Linked DNA regions of Homo sapiens: regions 1 and 3 are each linked to region 2. The links are contacts of gene promoters, found by promoter capture Hi-C in human tissues and cell types (Jung and others, 2019). All regions are on one chromosome and are shown on one strand. The core of a region is centred on a gene start or on the middle of the fragment in contact, and the rest is flanking DNA. Distances in the headings are between cores, read along the strand shown.

Region 1 (2,745 bases), core at 118-2,617, 850 kb before region 2:
AACAAGATTTGGCATTCTGAGGAGTCTAATTATCTCTCCAAGAAGACTTAGCAGAATTCCAAGCTTGAAGTTCTAGTCTACATGTGGTAGTTCTCTCCTGTGTAACCTGGACTTCTTTTCCTACCCTGTAGGTTCTGTCGTATCATGCTTCAGCAGCAGAGGAAGAAACAAGAGAGCTACAGTCGTTAGCGGTAATTATCCTCTTTCTTTTTAAAAATTACTAATTACAGACACCTAATTTAACCAAATTTGGTAAATATTTAGATGGATACTTATAAAAATGTTTAATTAACTCTGCTTTCTTGCAGGGATGCAAAGTCACTGATAATACAAAGCAAAAGGCATTAAATAACTTATACTGACTGTGTAATATAGTGTATGATTCTGATATTTGTTTTCCAGTAATTGTTATAATCATTACATCTTTTTGGGGCCAAAATTAAATTTACTTTTCTTTTAGTTCCTGGAGAAATGGGGACCATGAGGTGGTTGTTTGGCTAGGGTAATAACAAAACAATTTATAGTTTGTTACTGATACCTACTCTGTATTATCAAGAATTGAGAGTGATTTTAATTTCTGACCATATGGCTTATAAAATGCTGTTTGAAATTGGGGTCAAATAAGGTCAGTTCCTGAATTCTCTTTGCATTATTTAGCATACAATGAGAGAAAAGCACATGGATATGTAAGTAGATGTATGTTGTAGGTCTTGGTTTGGAATGGCTTGGTTGAGATTAATGAAAATTTGAGGCACTTTAACACTTTACAACCTAGGTTGTCCTCCTGTGTTTAAATGTATTTGCGATGACATAGGTAAGGGCCATGTGAGTTGTGACAACAGTTATGTAAGGAATGAGAAAAGTGTGAACAGATCATTGAGAGTCTTTTTCTGTCATCCTCATCATAGTTTGCCACATGCTAAACTCTTTGTGCCCTTATGTACATCTTCTCATGTAAACTGCACAACTGTTTTCTCATGTAAACTTCATAACTATGTTATGAAGGCCGCACTGAAGCCTGGAGAAGCCCAGTGACTTGCTCAAGGTCACTGCCATGCAGTGAAAGAATGAGGATACAAGTTCACCATCCAGAGCTTGTGCACAGAACACTGTGCTGAGACAGGAAAGATGATCCAAATATTTTGACCTTGGCAATTCAAAGAATGATGGTGACATTAATTCATAAAAGTGGAAATATTAAGATGAATATTAAGAATCACATGATTCAAGCAACACCCTTCATAGCTGCTCCTCCACTCTCTTTTACACAAAACATTATAATTTTTGAATAGTCTATATTCATTTCTTCCACCATTTACTTTTACCTTTTGCAGTTTCACTTCCCTGAAACTGCAGGTTTGATTTAGGACAAGGTAAGTTTGAGGTGCTGGTTGAACAACCAAGTGAACATCTTCAGCAATCAGAAAAGGCAGGACTCAAGCGATGAGGTGGTGGTGTTTAGAACTAGAGGTGGAGATTTGGGAGTTAACATCCCATGGTAGTGAAATCATAGGGGTGCATCAATTGGGAGAGAATGCAGAGAGGTAGAGAGACTGAGAACAGAACTCCTGTGAATATAGCCTTAGATGGAAGGAACAGGAAAAGAAAACAGCCAAGAAGGTAGAGAAGTGGTAGTTAAACAAGGAGGAAGATTTAGGATAGTGCAGTGGCACAGAAGGCAAAATAAAGTAGTTTCAAAAAGGGAGGAGATCTCATCAGTGGTAGGAAGGATGAGAAATATGAGGATTGTGAAAAAGCTGCTGTGGATTCGTTGATTAAGTGATTATTGAGAACGCAGTTTCAGGGAAGTGAAACTGCAAAAGGTAAAAGTAAATGGTGGAAGAAATGAATATAGACTATTCAAAAATTGTAATGTTTTGTGTAAAACAGAGTGGAGGAGCAGCTATGAAGGATGTTGCCCGAATCATGTGAAGTTTTTTATTGTTTGGTTAGGTTTTGAATGTGTGAGCTGGCATTGCTCACAAGCAAGAGAGGCAGAATGTTCTTAGGCAAAGGCGGAGGCACAGGAGTCAGTGTGAGAATAACAATGCAAGACAGTGAAGAGATAAGGACCTTGAAGAGGGCTAGGCATGAAAGAGCAACATTTCTTTTGCCCAAACAAGAGGATACAGATAATAATAATAGCTACATTTGTTGAGCACTTCCTGTATACCGAGCGTGTTTTAAGTTCTTTGTGTAAGTCAACTAAGTTTACTGAATCCACAACCTAAATGATCAGTATTGTTAGCATTTTGTAAGAGGGAATTTGTGGCTTAGAGAGTTTCTATTGTGCTTCTCAGGATCTCATTAGGTTGTAAGGAGGGAATGGTGCCAGTACTAAATCCAGGCAGTCTGGATCCAGAGCCCACACAAGATTGCACAGCACTGGAGAGAGAGTAAGTTAGACAGAACAAAGTAAAATGAGGACTTGTAAACATTTTCAGTTAAATCCATGAGTAAGAAACTGAGTCATTTGCCAGTGAAACTGAGTTAACTGCCAAGAACAATTCTATGAACTTTAGATACTAATTGCACCTGAAAGGTTAAGGTCCTTTTTGAGTTAACCTCATATGGAATTGTCTATATTTATTTTGTATGTTGATGACAGTATTTGAAGTGATGAACAGTTTTTCAATTATTTACAAAGCTTTACAGGTTTAAAGTATTATTCACCTCAGGCTTAATTGGCCCATTTGTCTATTCTTCCTAGAAGGATGTAGTTTTCGAGCAATATGTTTGGTGATT
Region 2 (2,892 bases), core at 148-2,647:
CTATGAATGTATATTGAGTCAAATAGAAGTTTGAATTCAATATTAAGGAGTAAAACGTCTTCTGTGGTAGCAACAAAGAGCTACTTAACATTTTTGAAGATAATACGATAAAAGAAGTTGGCGAAAAGAAGACTTAGAAAGGATACTTGATTTGCCCAAGATCGTAATGCCAGCGGGATAAGGAACAAAGGAACAAATCTGACTCCAAGTTTCCACGGTTTTAGCCATATTCCACAAATCTGTTCATCAGACCATAAAGAGGATAGGTTTCAGAAGTCCATTTACTAAAACCAAGTTTCATTACTGAAAAATAACTGCAAGATGACTAATTACACTCTATGAGCATTGCTCCTATCACTTTTACTGATCTGAATAGTAGAATGGAAAATACAGCCTCGATTTTAAGTAGAACTGTGCACAATCTGTATTTTCTGCATGTGCACTCTACTAATCAGCAAATGTTAACTTACTCATACACAAGAAAGAAGTGAAGGACAATGGTTTAGAAGACAAGCTTTGGGGAGACAAACCTAGGTTCTATTTCCCAGCAGAGAAGTGAGCGACCAGGAGTAAAATTCCTTAACGTATGGAGCCTTTTTCATTACTTGATAAGTGAAGGTAATAATACCTGTTTCAGGAGATTATTGTGACTAACACAGAGTAAGATTTCAAATATTAACTGTGGATGTGACAAGGATACTCTATATAAGATGCAGAATCTAAAATTTACACTCAGGCTACTTCCAGTGTTGTCTTCAGAAAGATGTCAAAGAAAATACTGTAAACGTATTTCATAATGAAACCACAATCTCAAGAATTTGGGGCTGACGACGAAGAAAAGAAAGAAATAGATGACCATTTAATAGTGAAGAGAAATGTAGGGGATAACATGACACTCATCCTGGCGTGAACATGCCAGACACTCGGTGGGAGTTCCACAAAGCTTAAAGGCTAATCCTGGCATTCGGTTTAGCACCACAAAGACCGCGGAAGGAACTGGAAAAACATTCGGGACACCGCGAAAATTGAGAACTACAAAGGCAGAACCAGGGATCAAGATCGCAGGACCAGAAAGGCCTTAACAGCGGCAGGTAGAGAAGGGACAGAAAAAGGCGGGGTGTGGAGGGAGGAGGCGGCCGCGCACTCGCATTCTCGATCCCTCCCACAGGGGACACCAGGGCCGCGGACCTGCTGCGCGAGGAGCTGTCGCCGTAACTTCTGCCGCTCCCGGATCTCCTGCAAGCGGCTATCCATGTTCCAACTCCGGCTTTTCACTATCCCGAGTACTTGTCAATCTCCAGTGAACTCTTATCCAACCTTTCTTCCGAGTCTGTGGAACAAAATTCACCGGGAGCTTACGAACAGAGTATCCTCATAGCTTTCCTCAGTAGAGACTTCCGGCGCGGCCGGAATTGGCTCGCTTGGCCCGGAAGTCCCGCCTCCTTCTGGACGCTTGCTATGTGACGCCACTTGGAAGGGACCCAGTAAGGGATCTGTTGCGCCACAGGGGTCTCCAGGGCCCTCGCAGGTTGGGGTGGTCTGAGCTAGTCTGAAGGAGGACAGTCAGCTGACTTCTCCTTTATCTCTCTTTCCCAGGATAGCAGGTTCCCTTGGTGTATTACAGTTTCTGAAGTGTTGATTCCCTTTTCAATTGATTCCACAGATGACAGTCCTGACGTTTAAAAAATTGCCAGATAACCTTTAATTTTTTTTTTTTTAACAGAACACAAACTTAAGCCAGATTGCCTAGGATTGAACCTTGGCCTCTCACTTCCTAGACGAGTGGCCTTGGCTAGTTAACCACCTTCGTGAGCCTCAGTTTTGTCATCTGTAAAATGGGAGTCATAAGTGTCTACCTCACAGAGCTGTGATTGAAAGGATAAATAGCACCTTGCACATAGCGGTGTAGAAGTGCTTGTTATTGTTAATATTTTATTTACCTTCACGCAGGTAACAGCCACAACATCTGCCCACTCTTCCCCACACCTTACTGTCCCTTGAAATGTTTCCCATTTTACTATAGTATGCATTTTTTGGCTTCTTCCCTTTAGGGAAATGAGTATGTGATAGTAAAGCGTGTCTTGGTTTATGTCCTAGGAGTCAGAAGCTAAGAGACTCCTTTTTGTGCTTGTACATTTGTCTTAACTGAAAATAACCCAAGGATAAGGAAACAAATAGCTTCCTGAAATTACTCGGATTGCGGGGGTGAGGGGTGAGGGCTGGGGGGTGGTGATTCTGTCTTCATAGGATGGCAGCAAAGGCCAAAGTCTTATTTGAGTTATTACCATTATTATTCACCACACTTGCCATCTTATTTCAAGCCTACAGTGGCGGAAGTGGAGTAAGACATCATGTTGCCTCAAGTTTAATTGGAAATCGCGGTAAGTACTTAACAAAATTAGTAATAAGTCTGTTCTTTCAGAGTAGATTTAATTTTCAGAAATAATATTAAGTCATCCAGATCAAAACCAGTTGAGTCAGGCTGGGCCAAAAGTGGGCAAGACTAGATTCTACTTAGTCATGCCCACTTTTATAGAAATAATTATAATGTATTTCCGAAGAACTAGGTCTGAAAGACAATTTTGAACAAGTAGTCCTAAACAATTCCTTGAGTAATGTCAGCACTACTTGGATACTGTAAAATATTTATGTCCATATGAGTTAAAGTGTATTTCTTTAAAAATCAGTTGTATTATCTGGCAATCATTTAAGTTGAATACTGATTTAAATTTTACCAATGGTGAGAATAGGCAATTATTCACTTAAATATCTGTTGATATTGATTGAGCATTTTATATGGCAAGCACTGTGATAGGCCCTAGAGTCTATAAAGTCTGTCAAAGATTAAAAACTAAAGTCGGTTTTTCTTTATGAGTTTACTGTCTAATGGAG
Region 3 (2,700 bases), core at 57-2,556, 600 kb before region 2:
AATTGTATTCTTCATTGCCATATACTTGTGTTTTTTAAGCCAGTTTTACTTAAAGAATGCTTGATGAAACAGTAACAATTATTTTATTAATTTACTTCATTTGCACATCTTTTTGTTATTCTATATGAGGAAATGGGAAATATGCATAAAGCACTTTTGCTGTGGTAATACTAAGCATGACACCTGTTTGAAGAAAACTTGTATCCACCACAAGTTTTGCAACTTCCCAATACTTATAAAGACTTTCTGCTAGTATCTATGGTGATAGTAACAAAAATAGTTTTTAGAAAGATATTAGTGAAATGTATCAACACTTGGAAGCCCTGCATAACTCAGCAAACCAGTATTTTTTTTTTTTTTTTTTTTTTGAGACAGAGTTTCGCTCTTGTTGCCCAGGCTGTAGTGCAATGGCACGATCTCGGCTCACTGCAACCTCCGCCTCCCAGGCTCAAGCAATTGTCCTGCCTCAGCCTCCTGAGTAGCTGGGATTTCAGGCATGCGCCACCACGCCTGGCTAATTTTTTATATTTTTAGTAGAGACGGGGTTTCTTCATATTGGTCAGGCTGGTCTCGAACTCCAAACCTCAGGTGATCCGCCAGCGTCGGCCTCCCAAAGTGCTGGGATTACAGGTGTCAGCCACCGTGCCCGGCTGCAAACCAGTATTTTTTAAATGACCCTACATGGATGTTACAAAATCATGCATGAGTAAAGTATCCATTCAAAGTGCAAGACAGACTGATGTATTTTAATGTAATGGAGGACGAAAAGTTAAATACTATGGTTTCAGATTTCACACTGCATTAAAGAAACTACTACTTGGTGTAGTGTCAAAGAATAATATCCACAATTTTTAGGAAAAGCTATTAAAATATTCCTATTTCCAACTGTATTATCTGTGTGTAAATGGGCTTTCTTCATACATGAAAACATCACAACAGTCTGATGCAAAAACAAGAATCCAGCCATCTTACATGAAGCCAAGCATTAACTGAGATTTGAAAGCATAAAACAATGCCATTCATCTCACTAAATTTTTGTTTTCAATAGTTAATTTTCATTTAAAAATGTTATTTGTGTTAGCATGTACTGGGTTTATTTCTTTAAATGAATAAATATTTTGAAAGTTTCAGTTTTAGTGCCTAATCTAGCAAATGTTGATAGACATAACCTATATAAGACATAACCTATATAAGACATAACCATAACAAAAGCTCTTTTAGGTCATAAATCCTTTTCTAAGATTATAAAGATATCTGAGGCCCAAAAGTTTGACAACTACTGTTCTAGTTGGTAATAGTTGTCTTTTAAAACATCAGTCACAACTGTTCTGTGAAACAATTCCCCTTTTTACACTTGAGGAAACTTAGGCTCAGTGAAGTTAAGTGACCTAATCTATATTCTATATATCTGGTAAGTAGGAGCATTTAAACCAATCCAGGGTTCACTCCAAAGCTAGTGCTCATGCCACTGCACTATGCCATTAACATACAAAGACATTATACTAAATCTCCTTCTGATGAAACTAGGCCACTAGTGTGAACATCAAATAACATGCTGATGCCCATAGAAGATAGCAAAATATATGGCATTAGCATGAACTGTCAATTAATCGTCTACACTTCTGTAACATTTCTAGTAAGTTTTTCTGCATTCTCCCGTATTTTTAGTTGACATTTTCATCATGTTCATTTATCTCATTTTCCTCTCATTCTCCTGTTTCTACTTTACTGTACACCAAATCTATGAAGACTGCAAAGAAAACAAAGTTATTAAAGCAGTGATTTTATTTTTTAAACAATAAGTGTTCTTTATCTTAGATATTTTTTAGGTATTGCCCTATAGGGGAAAAATAATCTATATTTGATTATGATCAGGCTCTGCAAGTTAAATCTTGGAAGCAATTTCCAAGAAAGAGTCATGTAATATACATGAGAATTTAATACCCTCTATGCCAACATCGCTCCATATAGTAAATAATAAAAACTTAAGATGGTAGAATGAGAGGAACTATAAATCTGGCATTCATTTAAGATTTAACACGTTTACTTCCACTAAATTGCTGTAAGCGCTCTGATTATATACGTGCCTTTAAAAAAAAAAATTTGCCCAGAAGTTAACACAGTATCTAGCATACAAAAGACATTCAAATGAAGGTCTGCAGAATAAACAATTGCCTCAAAAACACAGTTTTACTTCTTTTAAGTCACCTCCACCCTGCCCATCATGTTCCCAACTCAGTGGTGCAAGACAAGTTAAGTATGAATTGAGACAAATCTTATCTTTCCCTCCCACTTAAGTCTATAAGTGCTATACTCATAACACTTTTAAAAAGCAGTAAAATTTATCCCAGAGTCTCTCTAGAAGGAATATATTATTTTTCATGTTTAAGAAAATCACTGTGGGTAAGCCTGACACACTGCCTGAGGCTCGAAAACTTTGCCAATCTTTTCAACAGCTATTTTATGATTAAAAAAAGATGTGACAAGAAATAAGATGTCAAAAAGAACTTCAATAATTTGTCAATGTTCACAGCTTAATTTTTAAGTTGAAATGTAATTTGCTACCCAGTGTGATTTTTAACTTCATATTATTAGCCAATTCATAATTTATTCACCAATTCATAATTTCAAGTTTAATATTCACAAACAAGAAACAAGTAAATATTTAGTTCTTAAGTAATTCTTTACTTTTATAAATTA

The links. The method cuts DNA at HindIII sites, captures the fragments that hold promoters and counts their contacts. A contact is called where the count stands out against the background at its distance.
Region 1: a contact is called between a fragment that was not itself captured here and the fragment with the promoter of METTL14 in region 2, in 4 of the 25 tissues and cell types used here (H1 embryonic stem cells, bladder, dorsolateral prefrontal cortex and 1 more).
Region 3: a contact is called between a fragment that was not itself captured here and the fragment with the promoter of METTL14 in region 2, in 2 of the 25 tissues and cell types used here (IMR-90 fibroblasts and hippocampus).

Annotation. Positions count from the first base shown.
Region 1 is chr4:119,536,406-119,539,150 of GRCh38, reverse strand. It overlaps PDE5A (phosphodiesterase 5A), which reads left to right. Exons shown (of 21, transcript NM_001083.4): 11 at 132-191. Among named protein-coding and RNA genes, the nearest start is that of PDE5A, 91 kb to the left of the region's middle. The HindIII fragment of the contact is 3,699 bases long and covers 1-2,745 here.
Region 2 is chr4:118,683,897-118,686,788 of GRCh38, reverse strand. It overlaps METTL14 (methyltransferase 14, N6-adenosine-methyltransferase non-catalytic subunit), which reads right to left and starts at 1,397. Exons shown (of 11, transcript NM_020961.4): 1 at 1,189-1,397. The coding sequence starts at 1,254. METTL14-DT (METTL14 divergent transcript) reads left to right here and starts at 1,448. Exons shown (of 7, transcript NR_125930.1): 1 at 1,448-1,484; 2 at 2,322-2,381. RefSeq lists enhancers at 859-998, 1,179-1,438. The HindIII fragment of the contact is 10,452 bases long and covers 730-2,892 here.
Region 3 is chr4:119,286,607-119,289,306 of GRCh38, reverse strand. The region is part of intron 17 of USP53 (ubiquitin specific peptidase 53); the gene reads right to left. Among named protein-coding and RNA genes, the nearest start is that of ARLN, 13 kb to the left of the region's middle. The HindIII fragment of the contact is 6,576 bases long and covers 1-2,700 here.